Regions from separate parts of the Homo sapiens genome. Here all the other regions are linked to region 1. Evidence: promoter capture Hi-C in 16 types of primary human blood cells and fetal thymus (Javierre and others, 2016). All regions are on one chromosome and are shown on one strand. The core of a region is centred on a gene start or on the middle of the fragment in contact, and the rest is flanking DNA. Distances in the headings are between cores, read along the strand shown.

What was found. Contacts are between HindIII fragments. The CHiCAGO score rates a contact against its expected background, and 5 or more counts as called.
Region 2: a fragment that was not itself captured here is called in contact with the fragment with the promoter of SH2D4B in region 1 in 1 of 17 cell types (activated CD4 T cells); the score reaches 5.1 in activated CD4 T cells.
Region 3: a fragment that was not itself captured here is called in contact with the fragment with the promoter of SH2D4B in region 1 in 1 of 17 cell types (non-activated CD4 T cells); the score reaches 5.2 in non-activated CD4 T cells.

What each region holds. Positions count from the first base shown.
Region 1 is chr10:80,536,378-80,540,295 of GRCh38, forward strand. It overlaps SH2D4B (SH2 domain containing 4B), which reads left to right and starts at 1,525. Exons shown (of 8, transcript NM_001388272.1): 1 at 1,525-2,138. The coding sequence starts at 1,955. RefSeq lists an enhancer at 3,229-3,368. The HindIII fragment of the contact is 17,935 bases long and covers 1-3,918 here.
Region 2 is chr10:80,191,493-80,195,410 of GRCh38, forward strand. All of the region lies in intron 1 of ANXA11 (annexin A11), which reads right to left. Among named protein-coding and RNA genes, the nearest start is that of ANXA11, 12 kb to the right of the region's middle. RefSeq lists enhancers at 2,868-3,544, 3,545-3,918. The HindIII fragment of the contact is 1,305 bases long and covers 1,373-2,677 here.
Region 3 is chr10:80,210,541-80,214,458 of GRCh38, forward strand. All of the region lies in intron 1 of LINC00857 (long intergenic non-protein coding RNA 857), which reads left to right. Among named protein-coding and RNA genes, the nearest start is that of LINC00857, 4.8 kb to the left of the region's middle. The HindIII fragment of the contact is 7,999 bases long and covers 1-3,918 here.

The sequences.
Region 1 (3,918 bases), core at 275-2,774:
TCCCTACAGCGTTGTCCCTGCCCCGTGCCCTCTTGTGGTCGTAGGTATCTGGCGGCCCGGGAAAGACAAAAAGAAGCTGCCCGCAGGAGCCCAGACCCTGGGGGCCTTCCTCCCCTTGTCTCCTCTTTGGACTCGGGGGTCTCCCACCAGCCACGGCGAGGGGGAGAAAGAGAATAGCTGGGCAGAGGCTAGGGAAGACCCCCGGTCTCAGAAACTGAGGGGAGCCAGGACTCCCGGTGGGGGAGTCGGTGCAAGCCCTGAGGTGGGTGGATGGGAGTCCAGGGCCACAGCTCTGCAGCGGACAGGCGAGTCCTGTGGCGGCTCTAGGAAGGTCTGGGCACACTGGGACCAGCTAGCTGGACCTGGGTGGGGAGGGGTGGGGCGTCTGACTCCACTCCTGTGACCTGGACATTGCCTAGCTGAGCAGGAGCTTTGACCCTATGGGCTTACAGCTCATCTGAATCTGCTTAGTCCATCTTCCTGTTGTGTTAACCTTGCAGAGGGGGAAGAATGCCAACTCTCCACCCCTCTTCCATCACTCTTGGGTACCTGATCCACCTTCCACCCTCATGGGCAAGGAAGGGGACAGGAAGGTCACCAATCCAACCAAGCCACAGTGCCAAATCCTGTTGGTTCGTTTGTTTTCCCTTGGTTGGGTTATGTTTTCAAACCATCAACAGATTCATAGTTGCTAGTGGATGTCAAATTTCAAAACGGGGGAGTCCCAATACAGTGACTTGTCCATTAGGAAGCCATAGGCAAGCCACTTACTTTCTCTGAGCTTCAATATCCTTGTCCCAATAAGAAGGCATCTGTGATTTGCTCTGAGCACATATTTAGGGTGAGCTTTCACCCTAAAGATCTCAGCAACGGCAGCTTCTACCCACCTTCACACACCAAAGAGAGGGTGGCTTCCCTCCCAGCAGAAGGCAACATCCCGCCATTCCAGTGTGCTTCTGATCAGGGCACAGAGAAGAGCCAGTTTCATCTTCTTTCTTTTTGGTCAACTCCAGGCATCTGCAACAAACAAGATTAACAACGACCATTAAAACTGGCCCCTGGAGGGTTTATCTGTCAGCCACGCATGGCTGCAGGATCTCATTATATATAGGCCAAAGGGAAAGGATGTCTGCTTCCTTTCTGTCCTGGAATTCCAAGATAAAATCCCCTCCAGTTGTCTCTACTGATTCCATTTTGTTTTCTTTCTTGGCTGTAACACAGATAGGAGGAAAAATCTTTCCTCCCCCAAGGCAGAGTTTTAAACGCATCATCTCAGAATGCCAAATGTTCTGGAAAGGAAGAAAGTTGGCAGCGAAGGAACCCGCAGAGAGAGGGGCTGAGAGGGCTGAGGGGCCCAGCAGCTTCTGGCAGGCTCCTCTGGTCTGTGTTTGAAATTGGCTGAAAAGACATGGAATTTAGTAGGCAAGTCTGCCTCCTTCTCCTCCTCTTATCTGCAGAGGAGAGATCAGTTCCCAGCTGGCCGGGGCAGTGTCATTGATATAGCTGGTGTCATTGTTACCTTCCACTAACAGATCACTCGACACCTACCAGCCCAGGCAGGGCTGGGACTGGGCATTTCCTGGCTGAGCTGGAGGCTTGGGCCCTTCCCATTGTCTCAGAACCCCAGGTGATGCCAAGACATGGGCTCTCCTGGGATGCCGTGCTTGGTGACCCAGGAGAAGGACTAGATTGCTCCTGGTGGTTGCTCCCCCTTGCAGAGTCCCACCTGCCCCTTTGGGTCCTGTTGCCTGGCCTCTTTTGCTGTCCTGGGTAGAGGAGATGAGTTCGTCGCTGGCTGCAAGCTGAGGCCAACTGACAATGCTGCACAGAGAAGGGGCACCGAGAGTGGCCCCGGATTGAGCAGTCCGTAGTGCAGAGCAGCCCCTCGGGCGTTCTGCCTGGCCCTGCTTCCCCTGCTGGCTGCCCTTCTGGTGCGTGCATCCCAGGTGGCATCATGCTGCAGCAGATCCTGCACGACATGTACATCGACCCCGAGCTCCTTGCCGAGCTCAGCGATGTGCAGAAGCACATCCTCTTCTACAAAATGCGGGAGGAGCAGCTGAGGCGCTGGAAGGAGCGGGAGACTTGGGAGGCCCTGGCCCAGGACGAGGGTCTCAGGCCTCCAAAGACCAAGCGAGGTACGTGGCTGGGAGTCACAGAGAGGTAGGCCACCAGTCCCCCAGGAGGTAGAAAAATTAGCAGGGCCAGGCTGTGCCCTTCTTCAAGATGGGCACTGGGGTGATGAGGGCTGGGGGCTTGAAACCCTTGTCTTGTGGGCATCAGGTCCCATGAGCCTGTGCTTTTGCCTTTTGGCCAGGACCTTAGGGCTTCGAGGCTGCTGCAGAGGCTGTCCAGCGGCCCTTATTGGAGTCGGGGAGTTGGGACTTGCTTTGTCTTGTTGTGGAAGGCCCGAGTTCTGGGAAGACACCATTGAGACTTCAGATTGTGCTCCGACGTGGTTGGCAATGGTAGGGTGAACGACGGCATATTTGTGACCCTTGCCATTGGTTCTGGGCCAGAGTGTGGTGTAGATATGCAGTTCCTTTCTCCTTGGCATGCGTGGCACACCAGTTCTTGGCTAGGGCCCCTTCTGTGGACTGTGCCTCTCCCTCCAGATCCTCCGGCAGGAGGATGCTGTGGGTTGTCTCTGGAGCCCCACTGGGCATCCGGAGAGAGGGCATCAGGGAACGTCCCACACAATGAATGACCATCCCCAAATGGTCGTAGCAACTGCAGATGAGAAGCAAGGGCCTAGCCTACATTTCAGGTGTTTTGTATGCAAAGTCATGTGCCAGTCAATCCTATGGACTGGTACACCTGTGGGTGAAGGAAATCATCCAGGACCCCTGGGCCAGAAACTGGCAGGCTGCTGAGGCTTGGCTTGGCACAGGACTCAATCCTGCCAGGGATTGTAGTTTCTGTGGATGCTGCATGCACTTTACAGTTTGCAAGGCTTATGTGCCTTCACCCTTTGAAGTTTTCAATCCAGAACAAAGTCCTGTTTCAGGGCTGAGCACACAGCTCCCTTGGTGATCTGGCTCTTCTCCATGCCAGGCTCACTGCTGGCCAGTCCCCACCAGGTGCCACAGGCCACACCCACATCATCTGGACATGCTTGCTCTTGTCTCTGGTCTTCACATGAGTGGCTCTCACCGTTGGGAATGTCCTTCTGCCTTCATCCACCTGACAGACTCCATCAGGAGTGGCCCCCCTGCCCTGGAGTGTTCAGGGATGCTCTTGCATAGGGCAGTACTTGCTCCTCTGTGGCTGCCTGGCATGTAGGACCCACGCCTGCCCTGGCATTTGCCACCCTGTCATTGTCATTCCTCATCTGCTTGCCTGGCTCTCCGATGGGCTCAAAGGCACTGGTGTGTGAGGGCTTCCTCCACTCTATCTTCCTCCCCTGGGCCCAGCACAGAGGTGGCACATGGTGTTAAATCCTTGTTTTGAACAAGACACAGCAGGACCCTGCCGGGGAGGTTGGGGCAGAGCTGTGACTTGGCTGCAGGTGGCTGCTGCCAAAGCTGGGGCCTTCCGGGCTGGGCTGCGCTGGCAGCTGCATCACTAACTGGTGAAATGACAAGCCACCTTGCCAGCACCACCCGGCCTGAGCCCTGGGGACTCATGATGCCTGCATGATGACTCTTCTTGGAGGGAGACAGATGCCTAAAAATTTAACTGCAAAAATATTTATACAGAGATTTGTCACACATAGACATCTACATTTTCATGTATAAATTATACATTAAACTCATTTGAGTTTCTGGTGCAGAAGATCCTTTTTCTGGTAATTAATTTTCTGATTTATAAAGAATGGAAAAGCAGGAAAGCACGCCGAGGAATGTGTGTATCCCAGGTCAGGATCCCGCTTGGATCCTGGCTCTTTGCTTCGGTCCTGCCTTTTGGAACTGTCTGGGC
Region 2 (3,918 bases), core at 775-3,274, 340 kb before region 1:
CAAAGGCCTCTGTTCTCTTTGCATAAGAGCTCTGTGAACATGTCTACCTAACTCAGCCAGCTTTCTTCAACAAGGGAAATATTAAACCACCAAGACTACAAAAAAAACCCTTTCCAACGGCACAAGGAGGAACCAGGTGCTCGCCTCTCCCATGTGTCGGGAACAGGCTCGGCACAGGTGTGCTAACTTGAATTACCAATCAACATGAGTCACCAGGGGACTTGGGCCCTCAGTGGCTTCCGTGTGGCCAGGCTACGCATGCCCAGTCAGCATTTGCCCAGTCGGATTTGCACAGGCAGGGCCATCACACCCCATCAGCCAGGACCTCACAACCGGATGCCAGAGGCCAGCTCAGCACCTCAGAGACGACTCAGTTCACTCCCACCGACCCCACCTCACCCCATTTCACAAATGGTCACACTGACAACCAGAGAGAGGGTTGTGGCATGCCAAGGTGATACAGCAAGACCCTAAGAGGGCTGGTGCTGAATCCCCCACTCCCAGGCTAGAGCTCATCGTCCCCAGGGCAGGGTGGGTAGAGAGGCTTCCTGTCCTCAGAGCTGCTGGCGGACTCAGGCCCAGTTCTCTAGGATGATTCTTTTTGTTCCATCACGGGGGCAGCCCATGGGAGTTCAAGCCTGGGTTGCTGCTTCCTGCCCGAGGCAACAGCAGGTACAGTGGGAAGACCAGCGCTGAGGAGAGATTAATTTTGCAATATTGGGGAATAACTGCCTTCCAGGAAACACACCGAAGGGGGAAGAGATGTGATAAAATCCTGCCCCTCCTGTACATTTCACCTATGCACTCTAATCAGATTTTTATGGTCTCCCTCTTCATATAGACAGCAAAGGGTCACAGGACATCTGAGAAAGTCTACACCAAGAAAGGGAGAGACCAAAACAGAAGAAAAGGAACCAAAGAAACAGACAACGATGAGAAGTAGAGGACAAAAATATAATCAATAATATCCTCAGAGATAGAAGAGAACCAAAGAAACAGACAATGATGAGAAATAGAGGACAAAAATATAATCAATAATATCCTTAGAGACGGAAGAGAAAATGTTATATCCACAAAGCAAAAAGATCAGCAAAGCAATCATTGTGAAATTTGAGAAGAGAAGAGGCAGAAGATACTAAAACTTTAGAAAAGAAAGAACAAGGGTCCTTTTCAGGGGAACTGGAAGGACACTGGACTTCAACAGCCACACTAGAAACTAGAAGATAACAGAATAATGTGTTCAGTGTTCAGAAAGGAAATTATTTTCAGCTTATAATTCTATAGCCAGCTAAATTATCCACTACTGGATAGAGATATTTGGAATGGATATTTCTATCCATTAGGGAGGAATAGAGATATTTGCAGGCACACAAGCTTCAAAAACAAAAAACAAAACAAAATCTACCTCCCATGCACTTTTCTTAGGAACTTCTGGATGATTTCAGCAAAATGAGACATAAATAAGGAAAATAAAGAAAATAAAATATATAGGATCTAGGAATAGGAGAATCTAACACAGAAGACTGTAAAAAGAAGTCCCGGGACAACAGCTGAGCAGCAGGCCTGCGGAGCAACCAGACCAGTTTGGAACAATAGATACACAGAAAATCAGGCCCCCAAGGAGGGAAAGCATCCACCTGAGGAATATTGGGACAGGAAGGATTGTACTCCTAATGTGTGACCACGGCACATTACTTGCACAGCATCGAACAATACAATTTATGGTCACAATAATGCATACATTAAATATTGATGTATGTATTGGTTCCTAATCTACCAAGCAGGAAGTCAACATATTTCAAAACTGATAAATTAAGAAACAGTCATATAAGCCTATTAATTAAAAATAGTTAAAAATGATTAACTCTGGAGAAAGGGAAAGAGGAAGGATGTGTCAGGGGACTGCTGGCTTCATTATAAGCCTTTTGGATCAACATATTTGGCTTTTTTCGTGTATTATTATAAAATATTTTTACAATATAGCAATAAATACAACATATATATGAATTATAAAGCACAATAAAATAAGCATCCTTTATCATCTAACTTTAGAAAGAGAACATTACTTCTGCCAGGCGCAATGGCTCACATCTGTAATCCCAGCACTTTGGGAGGCTGAGGCAGGCAGATCACTTGAGGCCAGGAGTTCGAGACCAGCCTGGCAAACATGTCAAAACCCCGTCTCTACTAAAAATACAGAAAGTAGTCTGGCGTGGTGGCGCATGCCTATACTCCCACCTACTCGGGAGGCTGGGGCTGCAGTGAGCCAAGATCGTGCCACTGCACTCCAGCTTGGGCAACAGAGGGAGACTCTGTCTCAAAAAAAAAAAAAAAAAGACAGAATATTACTACATTCTTCTTCTTTTTTATTTTTTTGAAGAAGTCTCTTGCTCTGTCACCCAGGCTGGAATGCAGTGGTGCAATCTCGACTCACTGCAGCCTCAGCCTCCCAAGTAGCTGGGATTATAGGCATGCGCCACCACGCCCAGCTAATTTCTGTATTTTTAGTAGAGACAGGGTTTCGCCATGTTGACCAGCCTGGTGAACTATATTCTTCAACTGCTTTCTGAAAAAACAGGCATATATTTTTTAGGGGAAAGTTAAAATAAAACACTAGCAGCCAGTCTGTGAGACTGGTACCAACATCTGCAGTAGGTCCAGGTTTTGTGGGGCCTGAAGCTTATACAATTTTAGGAACCCTCTTCAGGACAAAGAATACAAAAAATCTTAGTTTTTTGCAAATGTTATAAACCATATGACTCTGTGAACTCACTGCTAGTGCCCCTCCCACGGCCCCTCACTAGGGTGCTACAAGTCCGGGGACCTGAAGCTTCCACTTCATTAGCTTCACAGCAATCCCACCTGGGTTTATGGAGGCACCAGGGGCTGGGCTACACCCCCTAGGATAGGGAAGAAAAAAATAAAGTCCTGGCCTGCATCATGCTTTCCCTCTAGCTAGCGAGATAAACACAATAGCGCACTTCCAGGGAAACACACACTACAATATTTAAGAGCCACTCCTAGGAAGAGTCGGGGGGGGAAGACAAAGAATTCAGAAAATGTGTTCCCTGGCAGTGGAGCATAGGGGCGTCTGAGAAACTGGCTTCTCTCTGAGGGGCCTTGGCAAATCTAAGCCCTCCCAGCCTCGTCTACCTCACCTATTTTCAATGAGTGCGCCTGCAGGGCCTCAGTGGTTTGCATGCTGCCTCCCAGAACCTGGGGCTCCTGAAGGTTTTGGAGCTCAATAGCATTATTTCATTGGAGGGAGGAAAGGGCTGCAAAAGGGAGACTCTGGCTTAAATCCTTCAAAAATATTAAAACAGGAGCTCTGGCAACAAGGGCCCCATATTTCTGCATGGTGACACTCGGCTAGGGCTGGCAACAGCTGCGCACCTCCCTCCCTCCTTCAGCTGCCGGGCTGTCCTTGCAGGAATCTGCATTTGTGATCACAGGAGTAGAGGTTTACCAGGGCCCTTCCAGTTGGTGTGTTATGAGCCATCTCATCTCCTTATGAATGGCCGGCACAGACCCGTCTCTCACCACAGGCTGAGGAAGAGAGGCGAAGAAGACTGAAGAGTGTGATGGCAGCAGTGTGTCCCCCAGCCTCTCCCGGAAAGGCCCTGATGCCCATCAGCCAGTCCTCGGGGCCTGTTCAAACCACTCTGGAAGCCCAGCCCCTTCAAGCCTGGGAGACTTAACAGAGTGTATATTCCAGCTCCAAATGGCTGAGCACCCCTGCTCTACCTAGAAGCCTCAGGAAACCTTTCCAAATATCCCTTATCAAGGTCTGCTCTTCAGATGGTGACAATGTCCCCAGTCAGCCGCATGCAACTGGAAGTTCAAGGACCTGCAGCTCACTCTGGAGGAGAAAACACCTTCACTTGGGAATGGGCTGACCCTTCTGCAGCTGGCATCCTA
Region 3 (3,918 bases), core at 509-3,008, 330 kb before region 1:
CTTTAACAATGTTTGACATGGTAATATGTTTTTACAGACTTTGCAAAAGTAAGCGATTTTAAGTGCAAATGCAGTCATGCGTTGCTTAATGACAGGGATGTGTTCTGAGAAATGCATCCTTATGTGACTTTGTTGTTGTGCAAATGTCATCAGGTGTACTTACACAGAACTAGATGGTAGAGCCTACTATATGCCTAGGCTGCCTGGTATAGCCTATCGCTTCTAGGCTACAAGCCATTGCAGCGTGTTACAGTACAGAATATGCTAGGCAATTGTAACACAATGGCAAGTACTTGTCTATCTAAACATGCCTAACCACAGAAAAGGTACGGGAAAAATATGGTATGATAATCTGAAGGGACCATCATGGTCCAGCTCATCTGGCTTCTGTCCTGGGGAGGCAGGTGGAGGCAGAACCCCCGCTGCTAGCCAGGGAAGAGCTGCTAGTCCTTCCTGCCCCTGCCGCCTGCCTGTCATGTGCCCCTGCCTGACCATCATGGTCCCACATGGTCTGTCATTGACTGAAATGTCCTCGTGCAGCACTTGACTGTAGTTAAGATGGCTGGCTCTTTCCACTCTGATTTCCCCTCCATCTCATTGCTCCTCGTGCCCCTCATGTTGGAATGGTCATAGGCATTTTTAGGATCTGGCTTGGGATGAGACAGCTTTATGTAGTTTACAGTCACTTCTGTGTGTGGTTGCATTACCGCTAGTCTTCCAGCGTAGGAAGGGCTTCCAGGAATATTGTTCTGATTCAGCCAGCAGGGTCGGAGATGATATCTAAATAATAAACATTTCCCCAGCACCTGTTTTCAGAAATATGTCAGCAGTGGAGGAGAAACAAGTATGGAGCCAGAAACTAGTCTATGGAAAACTCTCTCCCCCATCATATGTATAGAGTTTTAAGCATGTACGGCTGTTCACATCCATGCCTATTTAAAATGGAAGTTCTCTCCTGTAGAGAACATACTCAATAGTGCAATATATACACTTATAACACACACATATAAATATGTCTTTTTTGAGCAATTTCAGTAAATGTATTTTGTTAGAGCTCCTGTGTAGTAAGGCAGAACTAGAGGAGTATTGCAAATAGAAGTATGCTTTTGTGTGAAATGAGATGTCTTATGCATCTCACTGTATCTGATTGCATCTTAGCTTGTCTGATATATTTTATTCCAATGAAGTCCACAAGTTCTAGATGTCTCGCCTCTCTTGAAACATCGCATTGCTTGTGTCCCCTCGCCCTACCCTGTGGTCTCCTGTCTGCACACCTTCGCTCGGGCCGTCTCCCCAGCCTACAATGGCATTTTCTCCTCTTTTCACTTTGGCTGCTCCTACTCATTCTCCAAGATTCTGCTTACTTCTTATCTTTTCTATACATTCTCTGACTTCCCTTTTCGCGATAGTGGACTGAGCACATGCTGCCATTTCTCCACCCAGGCCCATCCTCCAGGAATGACAGGGAAGGAAAAAAATTAGTGTTCTCAAAAAGATAACAGGAAATGTTCAGAGAATCAGAAGCACTGACACGTTTCTGAGAAGCCAAAAGCAGACAGGATCTGATTTGATACTGCAGCCCAGCTCATGAGCAGCAGCCAAGGACATACTATAGGTATACTACAGTATATACTTCAATAATGGGACCAGCAACAAGGCATTCCACACCCAGAGGTGGTGAATGCCTGGAACAAGACTCGGGACCAAAGGGCTACTGACAGAGGGTTAAACAAGTATGCCCGTGGAAGGAGCTAGATGAATTGACCCTGAATATCTCCCTCAACCCCACCCCGGCAGACAAGATGACCAGGACAGCAGTGTCTGTCTCCTGGTATGAACTGTGTTAGGAATGAAAGACAGGACAGGGCCCCATATGGCTGGCAAAGCCAAGGAAGAGTTAAGTAGCAGCCACATCCCAAAGACCAGCTGTGAGAGCACAGCTGGTCCACCTGATAGTGCCTCTGCCTGTTCTGCACTCTCCTTGAAAGCAACATGGAGCACAAGCTCATCCAGCGATTTCCAGCCCTCCCTCACAGCAAGCTAGGCCAGCAGATTTCTTGCAGAAAATTTCATGGGTAAAGATGAGTTCCCTGTCAAAAAATATCATTTGAGAAGCACCACCATGAAAGGGAGACGTCCACCTGAGGAAACATAATAATCATAGCTAATATTTACTGAGCATTTATGTGTCAGGCACTATTGCAAACATAAAGTGGGACTATTTTATGTTTGCAATAGACACATGAATACCTTACAAGAGTCCTGCCTTATAAGAGTTTAAGGTAGGACTATTTTTATTGCCATTTTACAAACGAAGAAACTAAAGTGTCAAGTGATTAAGTAACTTCGTCCAAAGTCACATAGCTTAACATGAGAAGCCACAGATTAACCTCAGCTGTCTGGCTCCAGATCTGGAGATTAAACAGAACAAATAGACAACCAGTAATGTGCTTTGAAGTAAGTATAATGAATATTCTCAAATAAGAAAGGATAGGAAAGAATCAATTAGGGATGTCAGAGATGAACAATGTGTTCATTTTGTATTACTGATCATGGGAATAAAAAACAAAAAATATATTCATAGTTTAAACAAATAAAACCACCTGAGTGGATGAGCTATGGAGTGGAATGTATGCAGCTAAAGAGCTGATTAGTGAACTGAAAGATTGGAATCCTCCCTGAAAACAGCAGACTTGGATAAATAAATAGAAAGTAGAAAAGAAAAGATAATAGACATGGAAGATAGTTCCAGAAGTGCCAACATCCACCCACTGGGTGTTACCAAAAGAGAGACTGCTAGAGAAATGGATGTCCAATGAAACATGGTTGATTTGCAACACAAATTTATTTCCTCTCCCTCCCCAAATCCTAATAAAATGGCAGTAGAGGAAGAGCACAGGTAAAATCCTTCAAGGACAGTAGGGACAAGAGAGGAGAAAACAGCAACCAAGAATTTGGACACGTATTTTGGAGATAGTATACAAAGGAGTGGTAATTTGGCAGAATGGTGCATGTTCTCACTTGGATGCCCCAGAGGGAGAAAATAAGAAGAAGCCAATAGATTCTCGCTACTTCACCCCCAGAGTCTAAGAAAGGATCCACACTTAAAGAGGTGAGGTACAGTGTGAGGCTGTAAACAGGAAAACAGAGGCATAAGTGGAAACCCTAGGCCACTTTCTCTACCCTCTTCAGCCAGGGGTCCCCTCCACCCAGGGGAGAAAGGAGAGTTATTTGTCATATAAATTGAACTGAAGAAACTGTAGAATGGGAGGTCTGAGCCACACAGGTTTGGGAGGAGGAGGTAAGGACAAGTTTAAACACAAGGATTAAGCCACAATCTACATATTGAATGATGGGACCCCAGTCCACAGAGAGTGAGTAACCTAATTTACAATCTATAGGCCAGAGTCCGGAGGATTCATTTGTGGAGAAAAGGAATGTCCCACACAAAGGGCCTCCAAGTGGCTGATGTGTGCTGGTTTCCTCAATGAGGAGCTGACCTGATGCTCAGACACTCTGTGGTGAGCTCCGTCAGTCAAAAAGCCCCGCTCCCCCACAGAGACTGCAGTCAGTGTTTTGTGCCTCACCCCCAAATGTGAATACACAGCTAGGGGTCACCACCTGGGAGGAAGGCCTCCAGCAAGGGTGACCAACCTTCCTGGCTTGCCAGGGACCGAGGGGTTTCACAGGACATGGGACAGTCAGTACTACTATGGTTTGAGTTTGTCCCCACCAAAACTCATGTTGAACTTTGATCCCCAATGTGGCATTGTTGGGAGATGTGCCTGGTGGGAGGTGTTTGGGTCACAGAGACAGATCCCTCATAAATGACTTGGTGCACTCCAGCTCTCTCATGAGAGTGGATTTAGTTCTCGTGGGAATGTTCCTGCAGGAATGGGTTGTTGTAAAGCCAGGATG